Regions from separate parts of the Homo sapiens genome. Here regions 1, 2 and 3 are each linked to region 4. Evidence: promoter capture Hi-C in 16 types of primary human blood cells and fetal thymus (Javierre and others, 2016). All regions are on one chromosome and are shown on one strand. Each heading gives the region's core, a stretch centred on a gene start or on the middle of the fragment in contact. The rest is flanking DNA. Distances are from core to core; before and after follow the strand shown. Region 1 overlaps PRDM16 (PR/SET domain 16). Region 2 has its middle 5.0 kb from the start of ARHGEF16. Region 3 overlaps ARHGEF16 (Rho guanine nucleotide exchange factor 16). Region 4 holds the start of CCDC27 (coiled-coil domain containing 27).

Region 1 (3,313 bases), core at 701-3,200, 330 kb before region 4:
TCAGAATGTGTTTCAAAGCCCTGAGGTAGGGAACGTAGAGCCTTTGGTGCACCAAATATGTTTCTTGGAGGTAACTTGGCCCCTAGCTTCTCCTGGCCTAGAGGTCTTTGAGTGAAGCGGGAAGGTGAGATTGAGTTAATGGCAGTCTTATTTCTTAAAAAAAAAGTTAAGCATATAGGCTTTGCGGGATTTGGGTTGGAGAAGCATGAAAATTGAACTGGGAGTGGGGAGAGGGGCTGCTCCTTGGTCTTCGTCCTGACAGCCGGCCCGGGGGTCTCTCTGGGAGGCTGCCCAGTGGAGCCTGGAGTCACAGCCTGGATGCGAGCAGGGCTGCCCGGGACTCCTGCTGGGACCGAGATTCCTGCCTCAGGGCTGCTGACTCCCTAGTCTGCCGTGTGCTTCCATCATCTCCCCAGGCTCCATCCTGCCTTCTGTGTGAAGCTGGAGCGTGCAAGGGAGGCACAGTTGTGCTTCCATCGGGGGCTGCACGCGGCCCGTGCATGTCCTTTCTTTTTTAGTTGTATTTTTACGGCTGGGTTTCAAAATCTCTTCTTTCTTCCTCTTCCCTCACTTTTACAGTCACCAAAAGCAGATCCCCCTGTAGTGGCTGCAGGAGACCTCACTGGATCCTAGGAAGGATGCCGCTGCCCAGTGCTCAGGGGCTCGGGGGCCCTGGCCACCCCCCCTGACCTGCCCATACTCTGTTGTTCCCCTGCCAATGGCTTCTCTGGGAGTGCAGCAGGCACGGTCACAGCAAGGTCCTCTCAAGGCCCTCCGCATTGCACCAGGGCCAGGCTACCCTGCACGTTCTCCTTCCTTTTGGAGCTCACGGGCGTGTTATTTTACGCAGTGAGACCATCAATTTCACTGGCCGCTTGTCAGCTTATTTACAACGCAGACCCCAGCTGCTCGGAGAACTCTGCTCCCTCGCAGCCCTGGGCTCACGGCTCCCCTAAATTTCAAATGGACTTCTCTGTCTGGGCCATTTATTTAGATTAGAAGCAAGAGAGGGCCACGTTCAGGGCTCTCTGCAACCAAATTGAACGCACAGCCCTGTTCGTGGCTCTCCCCGGCCCCAGAGCTTCACACAAGGGACTTGCTCTCCAGTTTTATGAACAAGCTTCTTTTCCAATCCCATTTCTTACCTCGGATCCACAATTGCTAGGGTTTATGCAAGAGCCATTAGGTGGACTTTCTGCAAAAGTCTCTGCATTTCCAAAGAAACCAGGAACTGAATGAGCCGTGTTTGAGCACACATGCAGACAGACAGGCAGACACACAGGCAGGCGGACAGACAGGAAGATAGGCAGGCAAACAGACAGGAAGACAGACAGGCAGGCAGACAGACAGGCAGGCGGACAGACAGGAAGACAGACAGGCAGGCGGACAGACAGGCAGACAGACAGACAGGCAAACAGGCAGGAAGGCAGACAGACAGGTAGATGGACAGATGGATGGACAGACAGGCAGACAGACAGGCAGGGCAGACAAGCAGGAAGGAAGATAGGCAGGTGGACAGACAGATGGACAGACAGGCAGGCAGACAGGCAGACAGACAGGCAGGGCAGACAGGCAGGAAGGCAGATAGATAGATAGGTAGGCAGACAGACAGATGGACAGACAGGCAGACAGACAGGCAGGGCAGACAGGCAAGAAGGCAGACAGACAGGCAGGTGGACAGACAGATGGACAGACAGGCAGGCAGACAGACAGGCAGACAGACAAGCAGATGGACAGGCAGGAAGGCAGATAGACAGACTGGCAAGCAGGCAGACTGGCAGGCAGACAGACAGTCAGGCAGGCAGACAGATTGGGCTGCCTCAACATGCCAGAGGGGCACATGGCCCCAGCTGGGTGGGAAGCCTCTGGCTGGGCAGAGCCTGAATGCTCAGACTGGCAGGTGCTTTGCATCCGGGCTGGAGACGCAGAGTCCAGTGTGTCCTTTCTCAGCAGTCAGTCAGCCTCAAAAGCATGGCGGTCCCAGGGCCAGGCACCACCATTCCAGTCTAAGGATGTGTCAGGGTGGGGGATGTGAGAAAATGCATTGGAGGGTGTAAAATCCCTCCTTTCTGGGAGATTGTGTGGGACACGTCGGGTAGGGGGGCACCCAAGCATCTCCAACCCTGCTGCCGAAAGGGCTCCATCCTCGGCCTTATTCTTGTGTGAGTTCACAGGCCGAGTCAAACAAAACTGCAGCGCCGCCCAGGGCAGGCTTTGTGGATGGCCAGTCCAAGCCAGGGCGCTGCCTGTCACTGGGCTGTGGGAGGAGACGCTGGGACCCGGGTGCCCGGAGGCAGCTCAGCTGACCCGGGCAGGAGCAGGGGCTCCCAGAGAAGAAGCCCACAGGCCAGGCCCCTGGGATCAGGAGCAGAGAAGGCTGAGGGTCACTTCGGGGAGCTCAGGGACTTCGATCACCAATGCTTCTTTTCCTGTCTACTGTTGAAGAGGCCAGAGTGAGCCTGGCCTCCGGCAAAGGTTGGAAGGTTCAGGAATTGAGTGGATGAAGCCTTAGGGCAGCACCAGGGAAGTTTGCTGGGACGAAGTGGGATGGGGATATGCCTCGGCCAGGCGTGGGAGAGGAGTGCCCTTCTCCCAGGACTGCCTCCCGTTCTCTAGGGGACCCATTTTCAGACTTGCTAGGTTTTACCAGGCAGCCTGGGGAGTTGGGGGAGACTCGCAGGCTCTGAGATTCCAAGGACAGTTTCTCACGGCCGCAGCCCCTGCACGTGGGGAATGCTGAGCTCCTGGGCCCGGCAGCAGCACCCGGAAGGTGTGGGACTGAAGCTTCCTGCCTTGGGGAGGCCCCTGCGGGTGTGTTGATGGCAGGTCAGACTCCCTCGCCAGGCTTTTGTGATAGCAAACACCAGCCCAGGCCCCTCCTGTACAGGGCAGCACCGTGCCGAGAAGGCCGAGCCACACAGCCCCTCCCGGTCTGGGAGGCCAGGACTCCCGAGTGTCACCAGGCACGTCCCCATCCATGTGACAAGGGCATGTGACCAGTATGCTGCTCTGGAGCGGGCCACCGGCACCGGTCGGGGCGGGGTGGGGCCTCTCGGAGTCCTGTCCTCTGTGGGAACGAAGGCCACTGTGCTTAGAACAGCCACACCCACTCCGGGTGAACAAACCCTGCCCCATCCTGGTGCCTCCACAGAGGCTCCCACAGAGGCCCTGGCCTGGTCTCCAGCTGCTACCAGGCCCCCCCGGCCAGGATCCTGCTGCAGTGGGTAGACTTTCTGTGTGCTGTGCCATGGGCATCATGGAGCTTGCTTTGTTTTCAAAATATGAAAACGCATGATCATATAAACAGAATGTT
Region 2 (3,080 bases), core at 442-2,941, 300 kb before region 4:
TCAGATCTGGTTTTCGTCTTTTTTTCTGTTCCTCTGCCCTCTTTTGGATGAGTATTTTCTAGGATTCAATTCTCTCTTCTCCCTGGACTTATTAGCTGTAGCTCCTCACCTTAATTTTTAGTGTCTGATCTAGAGTTTTCAGTATTTATCTTCATCATTGTCTATCTTTAAGTGATATTATACTCACTGTAAAATATACAAACTTTACTCTGGTATATTTCTATTCTCTCCTCCTGCATTTTGAACTTTTACTGTAATATATTTCACTTTTACATATAAATTTGATAATACACTGTCGTTATTTTCACATTAGTCTCTGATCTTTTAAAGAACTGTTTTGGGCCGGGTGCAGTGGCTCACACCTGTAATCCCAGCCCTTTGGGAGGCCAAGGCGGGCAGATCACAAGGTCAAGAGTTCAAGACCAGCCTGGCCAAAATGGTGAAACCCCATCTCTACTAAAAAGATACAAAAATTAGCCAGGCATGGTGGTGTGTGCTTGTAGTCCCAGCTACTGGGGAGGCTGAGGCAGGAGGATCACTTGAACCCAAGAAGTGGAGGTTGCAGTGAGCTGAGATCGTGCCACTACACTCCAGTCTGGGCGACAGAGTGAGACTCCATTTAAAAAAAAAAAAAAAAAAGGAATGTTTTGAAGCACAGAAAAAAAGCCTCTCACATTTATTGACATATTTGCCATTTCCAGTGGGTTTCTACTCCTTGTGCAGACCTGAATTTATATCTGGTATCATTTTCCTTTCGCCTGAAAAAATTCCTGTGACATTTCTTATAGTGTGGGTCTACTGGTGATGAATTTTCTCAGCGTTTGCCTTAACATGTCTTTATTTTCCTTTCATTTTTGAAGGATATTTTCAAGAGAAATGGACATCTTGGTTGACAGTTTTGTTTTCTTTCAGCACTTTAAAGATGTTGTTGTAGTTCTCTCAGCTTTCAGTGTTTCTGATGACAAGCCAGCAGTTATTTTGGTCTTTATTCCCTTACGATTTTTCCCTCTGTCACTGGTTTTCAGCCATTTCATTATGAGGTACCTTGGTGTGGTCTGCTTTGTACGTATGCTGCCTTGACATCTTTGTACTTATTCTACTTCATTTTAAGGTCCTTGATTCTGTGGATCTATGAGTTTTTATTACATCTGAAAAATTTTCAGCCATTCTTCCTTTTTTTTTTTTTTTAATAAGACAGAGTCTTGGTCTGTCACCCAGGCTGGAGTACAGTGGTTCAATCACAGCTCACTGGAGCCTCGACCTCCCTGGGCTCAAGCAATCCTCCCACCTCAGCCTCCCAAGTAGCTGGGACTATAGGCATGCACCACCATGCCTGGCTAATTTTTGTACTTTTAGTAGAGACAGGGTTTCACCATGTTGCCCAGGCTTGTCTCGAACTTCTGGCCTCAAGTGATCCGCCCGCCTCAGTCATGCAAAGTTCTGGGATTACAGGCGTGAGCCACTGTACCCAGCCATTGCTTTAAACATATGTTCTTCCCTCCCCACTCCCTCCTTTCTGGTCCTCCAGTTACACATATTGTTAGACTGCCTGATGCCTGATACCGTCTCAAGGTGGGCAAGGCTCGGTTTCTGCCTTTTCCCTAGGTTTTTCCTCTGCGTGCTTCAGTCTGAGTAACTTGTCCTGGCTTCAAGTTTACTGATTGTTTTCCTCTGTAGTTTCATCTGCTGTTAATCTCATCCAATAGATTTTTTGTTTCCTACACTGTATATTTTCATCTTTAGGATTTCCATTTGATTCATTATTATACTTTCCATCTCTCCTTTGACTGTGATCATCGTTTCCTATAAATCCTTGGGTGGTGTGTGTGTATATATTATATATATGTGTGTGTGTGTATATGTGTGTCCGTGTGTGTCCGCGTGTGTGTGTGTGTGTGTGTGTGTGTATAGAGAGAGAGAGACAGGGTCTGGCTCTGTTGCCCAGGCTGGAGGGCAGTGGTGCGAGCTCAGCTCACTGCAGCCTCCAAATCCTGGGCTCAAGTGATCCTCCCACCCCAGTCTCCTGAGTAGCTCACCTAGCTAATTTTTTGTATTTTTTGTAGAGATGGGGTTTCACCACGTTGCCCAGGCTGGTCTTGAACTCCTGGACTCAAGCAACTCACCATCTCAGCCTTCCCAAGTGCTGGGATTACAGGCATGCGGCACCATGCCCAGCTGATCCTTTGGGGTATTTTTGATTGTTGTTTTAAATGCCTTCTCTGCGAATCCTGTCATCCGTGTCATTTCTGGGTCTGCTTCTACTGACTGATTTTTTTCCTAGTTATTTGTCACAGGTTCCTGTTCCTGCTTCTTCACATGTCTAGTAATTTTGCATTGGGTGCTGGAGGTCGTAAATGTGTAATTTTGCATTGGGTGCTGGAGGTCGTAAATGTGTAATTTTGCATTGGGTGCTGGAGGTCGTAAATGTGTAATTTTGCATTGGGTGCTGGAGGTTGTAAATGTGTAATTTTGCATTGGGTGCTGGAGGTCGTAAATGTCAAATTGTTTGAGTTTCTGGATTTTACTGGCCTTCTTTTCAAGCATGTTGAGTGTTATGCTGATGCACAGTTAACGTACTTGTGGATCAGCCTGGTCCTCTCAGGACTTGCTTTGAACTTCTGTTAGGTCATGTCTAGAGGAGCTGTCACCCTAGGATTACTTCAGCCCTTCACCTAGGACATGGCCTTCTTTGGTATCTACTGAATATTCTGGGTGGTCAGGATTTTTTCCCTCTGTCCCTGGTTTTCAGCCATTTCATTATGAGGTACTGTGGTGGGGTCTGCTTTGTACGTATGCTGCTTTGACTTCTTTGGACTTATTCTCCATTGCTTTGAGGTTCTTGGATCTGTGGATCTACAAGTTTTTATCACATTTGGAAATTTTTCAGACATTCTTTTTTTGAGACAGAGTCTTGGTACAGTGGCTGGAGTACACTGGCTCGATCATAGCTCACTGGAGACTCGTCCTCCCCAGGCTCAAGCGATCCTCCCACCTCAGACTCCCAAGCGGCTGAGGTCAACGAGGGATAGTCAGCGACGGTGCTTCCTTCCTGGTGGCTGACGTTCCAGCGTCCCCTGGCC
Region 3 (3,339 bases), core at 396-2,895, 280 kb before region 4:
GCGGAAAAGGCAGGAGGTAAAAGGGCCCTGGGCGGGAGGGCTGTCCCCCATGGCCTGGGCCATGCAACACCCGGGGAGGGGCAGCAGCCACGGTGGCACCACCCAGCCATCCCTCTGCGGCCACCTCCAGTGCCAGGCCCTGTCACGCTGACCAGCGCCTCACACAGCCCCGGGCTGTGCTTCCACCTGCGCCAGGCCCTGACGGAGCCCCTTCACGTCACCGGGTGAATCCTCGGAGTCCAGGGGCTGCCATCACCCCCTTCTCTGACAAGGACGGGGGTCGTTGCCCAGCTTCAGCCGGCTCATAAGGCACCCAGCCAGGGGCATCCAGGGACGTCGGGCTGGCATCTCCAAGCTGGCCATTCTGACAGCCCCATCCAGGGGTGTGTCTGGGGTTCCTGTCCCCACCTGCCCCTGCCACCCGGGTCACGTCCTCCTGTTCCAAGCATTGGTCACCGAGGCACGCCCGTGTCCAGCGTCACTGTGGGGCTCACCTAGGCCCCTCTCCACAGGCCATGTTCGAGATCCTCACGTCGGAGTTCTCCTACCAGCACAGCCTGAGCATCCTGGTGGAGGAGTTCCTGCAGTCCAAGGAGCTGCGGGCGACCGTGACCCAGATGGAGCACCACCACCTCTTCTCCAACATCCTGGATGTCCTGGGTGCCAGTCAGAGGTGAGGCCACGCCACAGCCTTCCACACAGGGTCCTCTGCCAGGAAGGTGCCTCCCCCCGTGGGCACCGCACTGTCATCAGCAGGCCCCTGGGAGCCTGCGCTGCACCTTGATGTGGATGGTTTAGAGCAGCTGCTGGCTCCCGCGGAGTGTGATGACCTCTGAGGGTCCTTGAGGCCACCAAGAGCTGGCCCCAGGGCCGGGCTAAGCACTGGGGCTGTGGCATCCTGGTCGTTCTTAAGACGTGGAGCACTTCCCAGGGGTACAACCCTGCCCCACTGCCAAGCACCACCCCACCAGGACGTCCAGGCACAGAGGGCTGCATGATCCAGGCAGTGGTGGCCACAAGCTGCTCACCTGTAGGCAGGAAGCCTCGAGTTGCAGCTCTGGGTCATGTTCCACCCAAAGGTGTCTGGTGGCTGGACCTGAGCTCTGGTTGCAGGGCCTGGAGGTAGAGAGGCTGGACATGCAGCTGCAGCCATGCACGGGGGTATGTGCGTGGGGTGGGGTGGGGTGTGTGTGCGTGGGTGTGTGTGTGGGGTGGGGTGTCTGTGCATGGCTGTGTGTGCATGGTCAGTGGTGTGTGTGAGTGGGCTGGCCCCGAGGCCTGGAGGGTGGCTCGGGAGCATCCAGCACCCTGGTGTGTATGCATGGGTGTGTGGGGGCAGGGGTGTGTATGCATGGGCAAGGGTGTGTATGCATGGGCAGGGGTGTCTGCACGGGTGTGTCTGCACGGGTGTGTGTGGACAGGGTTGTGTGTGCGTGGGCAGGTATGTGTGTGTGTAGGTGTGCATGGGTTTGTGTGCCTGGGCAGCAGTGTGTGTGCATGGGTGTGGGGCAGGGGTGTGTATGCATGGTTGTGTGTGCGCGGGTGTGTGCATGGATGTGTGTGCATGGACGGGTGTGTGCACAGGCAGGGATGTGTGTGCGTGGGCAGGGGTGTGTATGCGTGGTCAGGGTTATGTGTGAGTGGGTAGGGGTGTGTGTGAGTGGCTGTGTTTTCGGTCAGGTGTGTGTGAGTGGGTGTGTGTGCGTGGGCAGGGATGTCTGTGTATCTGCGTGGTCAGGGATGTATGTGAGTAGGTGTGTGTGCGTGGGCAAGGGTGTCTGTGCATGGCTGTGTGTGCGTGGTCAGGGGTGTGTGTGAGTGGGCTGGCCCCAAGGCCCGGAGGGTGGCTCGGGAGCATCCGGCACCCTGGTGTGTATGCATGGGTGTATGTGCATGGATGTGTGTGTGGGCAGGGGTGTGTGTGCGTGGACAGGTGTGTGTGCGTGGGCAGGGGTGTATGTGCGTGGGTGTGTGTGCCTGGCCAGGGGTATGTGTGTGGGCAGGGGTGTGTGTGCATGGGCAGGGGTGTGCGTGGGTGTGTGTGCCTGGCCAGGGGTGTGTGTGCGTGGGCAGGGGTGTGCGTGGGTGTGTGTACCTGGCCAGGGGTGTGTGTGCGTGGGCAGGGATGTGTGTGTGCATGGACAGGTATGTGTGCATGGGCAGGGGTGTGTGTGCGTGGGTGTGTGTGCCTGGGCAGGGGTGTGTGTGCGTGGGTGTGTGTGCCTGGGCAGGGGTATGTGTGGTCTCGACCCTGTGCTGCTCCCTATATGCAGGAGGACCCCGGAGCATCGAGTCTCCTGAGCCTCAGCCTCAATGCTAACCTGAGGGGCGGTGCCTCTGGTCCCCTCGTGGGCTTGGGTGGCGCTGGGAGATGATTAGGGGCCTGTAGTGCCTGGCACAGGGCTGCCCCAACAGTGGTGGTTGCTGGCGCATTCTTATATCAGCCCCGCCCCTGGCGAGTCCCACCCATCTGCTGCCTGTGGGGTGCCCTTGCGGAACTTTGGGGCCCTGAGGGTGGGCAGGGAGCCGCCTTGTCCCTGGAGACAGGGGCTTCCTGTAGAGCTCCAGGGACCAGCTATGGGAAACTCCCAACCTCTGACTCAGCATGGGATGGGGCTGGGGGAGGGGGAGGGGTCTGGGATAGCGGCTGCCCCTCCCCCAGCTCTGCCCCCAGCCAGGCAGGCTTTGTGTTCTCTGAGCTCTGTGTCCTCCGGTCCCCTCTGCCTCAGGCAGCTGCATGTTTGCCTCTGACCTCCTCAGGGCTTTAGATTGCTGCCCTGGGGCGGGAAGCTCCGGCCTCCTCCCCCAGCTGGGCCCCCGACAGCTCCTGGCATTCACAGTGAACTGTCTGGGGAATCATCGCTATTTGGGGTAAGCGGCTGGTGGGCGGCTCTCCCAGACCTTTCTCAGAACCTGCAGTCACCCATATGAGCTGCTGACCGGCCTGGCCGGCCTGGGCACGTACGCATGTCGTGGCCCTGCTCATCCAGCAACCGAGGCCTCCCATGACCTGCTGGGTCCTCGTCCACGGGGACTGCAGCTCCATCTGCTGGGGATTCTCAAGGGCAAGCAGCTGTCAGGACACTCTCCCTGCAGGAAGCGTGGCTCCTGCGTGGGTGGCAGGCCCAGTCGGGCCCCGTGAGCAGAGGAGGAGGGACTCCCGCCCACCTCCACGCTGGGTAAGGGAGTCCTCCGAAGGACAGAGCTCTTGGGCTGGGAGGACCTCCTGTGGCGGCGGCCTGGAGACACGGATGTGGTCTCGGGTTGGGTGCTCTGAGGGTCTGCAGGATGGACGAGGCTCCAGCCACCGCCTCACACAGCAGGTGACCATCGTGGGTC
Region 4 (3,038 bases), core at 513-3,012:
CACTGAGGAAAGCTGCAGGGACCTCTGCCCAAGAAAGCCTGTCCAAGGTTTCCCCCCACTGAGACAGCCTGAGATGTGGCCTTGTGGGAAAGGAAAGACCTTACATCCCCCAGCCTGATACCCATGAAGGGTCTGTGCTGAGGAGGAGTAGTTAAAGAGGGAGGCCTCTTTGCAGCAGTTGAGATAAGAGGAAGATTTCTATCTCCTGCTCATCCTTCGGAACAGAATGTCTTGGTGTAAAGCCGACCATTCGTTCTACTCTTAGATAGGAGAAAACCAGCCTGTGGCTGGAGGCGAGATATGCTGGCAGCAATACTGCTCTGTTCCTCTTTGCTACACTGAGATGTTTGTGTAAAGTGAAACATAAATCTAGCCTACGTGCACATCCAGGCACAGTACTTTTCCTTAAACTTATTCATGATACAGATTCCTTTGCTCACGTTTCCCTTCTGACCTTCTCCCCACCATCACCCTGTTGCCCTGCCACACTCCCCTCACCAAGGTAGTAAAAACAGTGATCCATAAATACTGAGGGAACTCAGAGACCAGCGCCGATGCAGGTCCTTGCATGCTGAGTGTGCCGGTCCCCTGGGCTGACTGTTCTTTCTCTATACTTTGTCTCTGCGTCTTGTTTCTTTTCTCAGTCTCTCATCTCCACCTGAAGAGAAATACCCACAGGTGTGGATGGGGCAGGCCCCCTTCAAATTTCCTTCAGTCAGCAAGCAGAGAAGCCTTTCTTCCCATTCAGACCCTAATCAAGGCTTCTGAAGGTAGGGGTTTTGTCTTTCTCTCCTTAAAAGATGTCTTGAGGTAGGCATTTGAAGCCTGGAAAATCATTCCCAGGGAGTCAGGCTACTCTTATCTACTCTTCTAGGTATTTCTTGGCCAAATGTTTCTAATCCCAGAGCCCACCCCCTAAACCTTTTTTTTTTGAGATGGAGTCTCACTCTGTTGCCCAGGCTGGAGTGCTCTGGTGCGATCTCTGCTCACTGCAAGCTCCGCCTCCTGGGTTCACGCCATTCTCCTGCCTCAGCCTCCCAAGTAGCTGGGACTACAGGCGCCCGCCACCACGCCCGGCTCATTTTTTGTACTTTTAGTAGAGACGGGATTTCACTGTGTTAGCCAGGATGGTCTCGATCTCCTGACCTCGTGATCCGCCCACCTCGGCCTCCCAAAGTGCTGGGATTACAGGCATGAGCCACCGCACCCAGCCTAACCTTTTCTAATACAATTACTGTCTTCAAGCCAGCACATGGAGACATTTGAGCTGGACTCCTGTGTCCTTGGGAGCTGACTTTTCTTTTTTTCTTTTCTTTCTTTTTTTTTTTCTTTTTTTCTTTTTTCTTTTGGAGATAGGGTCTCACTCTGTAGTCCAGGCTGGAGTGCAGTGACGTGAACACAGCTCACTGCAACCTCGACCTCCCCAGGCTCAGGTGATCCTCTCATCTCAGCCTCCTGAGGAGCTGGGACTACAGGTGCACGCCACCATGCCTGGCTAATTAAAATGTTTAACTCCTGGGCTCAAGCATGCCTCCCACCTGGGCATCCCAAAGTGCTGGGATTACAGGTGTGAGCCACCACACCCAGCCCAGAAGGCAACCTTCAATATTGAGCTTTGCTCTTCTCAAAAACCTGGTGTCACAGCACTGGCCTCCAGCGCATCCAGCCGCGGGCCCCTTTTGCTCAATAACGGTTTCTATGGAGACATCTGTGATGCCACCACTGCTCCCAGGAGCCCACAGGACCTGGAGCTCTGGAAGCTGATCTCCTCCCACTGCACCAGCCAGCAGGTTCATGTTCGAGGCCATCTTCCCCTCCACACCCCAAGCCAGGCTGAAGAGAGATCCACGGGAAAAGCCGGGCCTGTCCTCATTCAGGTCCACATTCAGGCAACAAAGCTCACTTGGTCTTTGCATCCCACGCCTCATGTTACCTAAGGAGGCCAGCCCATCTCAGAGGCACAGTTCGATGTCCAGCTCGATGGCCAGGGCCCTGGTGCTCCTCCAGAGCATGGCCAGCCGGGACGCCCGGTGCCCAGAATGGAAACCGCACCAAAAGCCACGCACGCTCAGCAAGTCGGTCCAGACCATCAGCCGCTACTACAGGAAGACGGTATGGGGTCCCGGGAGGAGGGCTGCCACGAGCCTTGAGGTGACCTGTTTCTTCTCCTCCCCAAAGGCCCATAGAGCTGTCAGCCCACAAAGCATTCCACAGGCCTTCTGGTGATGGGTTACCAAAGGGGGATTCCAGGCAGGCAACGAATTGAGCGCTAGGGGTGGAAAGAGCCCTGCGGTCCTCTCCCTTTCTGAAGGGCCTGGTGCCTTAGTCCCCACATGCCACCGGCTTCTTCTGGGTTAGCTGCTTTGGGTTGGTCCTCCCCTCTTGCAGACCTTGGCTCCCGGTGTCTCTGGTTGGCCAAGGGGAGAAGATGTACAGTTTGCCCCAAGACTCCCAAGGTGCATCTTGAAAAGGAGAGTGAAGGGGAGAAAATGTGAAAGGGGACCTCAGCCAGTCAGGTACGCTGTGCCACCGTGTACTGGGGGAGCCCGAGATGGTCACCCCGGCTCCTGGCAGCTTCCTGGGTGAATGCATTGCCTGGACCTAGTGGACTATGGTTTCTTTTTTTCTTTTTCTTTTTTTTTTTTTTTTTTTTGAGACGGAGTTTCACTCTTGTCACCCGGGCTGGAGTGCAATGGCGCGATCTTGGCTCACCGCAACCTCCACCTCCTGGGTTCAAGTGATTCTCCAGCCTCAGCCTCCAGAGTAGCTGGGATTACAATGTGCCACCTTGCCCGGCTAATTTTATTTGTTTGTTTGTTTGTATTTTTAATAGAGATGGGGTTTCTCCATGTTGGTCAGGCTGGTCTCAAACTCCCAACCTCATGTGATCTGCCCGCCTTGGCCTCCCAAAGTGCTGGGATTACAGGCATGAGCCACCATGCCCGGCTGGACTATGGTTTCCAAAGTGGGTCTGCGTGGCTCTTGCTGAGCATCCAGTGTGCTGGAGAGGGGACAGAGGGGACACACTGCTGCAGCCT

The links. The method cuts DNA at HindIII sites, captures the fragments that hold promoters and counts their contacts. A CHiCAGO score of 5 or more calls a contact.
Region 1: a fragment that was not itself captured here is called in contact with the fragment with the promoter of CCDC27 in region 4 in 1 of 17 cell types (neutrophils); the score reaches 6.5 in neutrophils.
Region 2: a fragment that was not itself captured here is called in contact with the fragment with the promoter of CCDC27 in region 4 in 2 of 17 cell types (neutrophils and activated CD4 T cells); the score reaches 6.0 in neutrophils.
Region 3: a contact is called between a fragment that was not itself captured here and the fragment with the promoter of CCDC27 in region 4, in 1 of 17 cell types (neutrophils). The highest score is 8.3, in neutrophils.

What each region holds. Positions count from the first base shown.
Region 1 is chr1:3,420,594-3,423,906 of GRCh38, forward strand. The region is part of intron 12 of PRDM16 (PR/SET domain 16); the gene reads left to right. Among named protein-coding and RNA genes, the nearest start is that of ARHGEF16, 32 kb to the right of the region's middle. RefSeq lists an enhancer at 71-571. The HindIII fragment of the contact is 1,664 bases long and covers 1,119-2,782 here.
Region 2 is chr1:3,448,132-3,451,211 of GRCh38, forward strand. No RefSeq gene overlaps it. Among named protein-coding and RNA genes, the nearest start is that of ARHGEF16, 5.0 kb to the right of the region's middle. The HindIII fragment of the contact is 5,295 bases long and covers 1-3,080 here.
Region 3 is chr1:3,468,921-3,472,259 of GRCh38, forward strand. It overlaps ARHGEF16 (Rho guanine nucleotide exchange factor 16), which reads left to right. Exons shown (of 15, transcript NM_014448.4): 5 at 1-16; 6 at 513-673. Among named protein-coding and RNA genes, the nearest start is that of ARHGEF16, 16 kb to the left of the region's middle. RefSeq lists an enhancer at 2,647-3,272. The HindIII fragment of the contact is 7,512 bases long and covers 1-3,339 here.
Region 4 is chr1:3,750,688-3,753,725 of GRCh38, forward strand. CCDC27 (coiled-coil domain containing 27) reads left to right here and starts at 1,763. Exons shown (of 12, transcript NM_152492.3): 1 at 1,763-2,112. The coding sequence starts at 1,795. The HindIII fragment of the contact is 5,281 bases long and covers 1-3,038 here.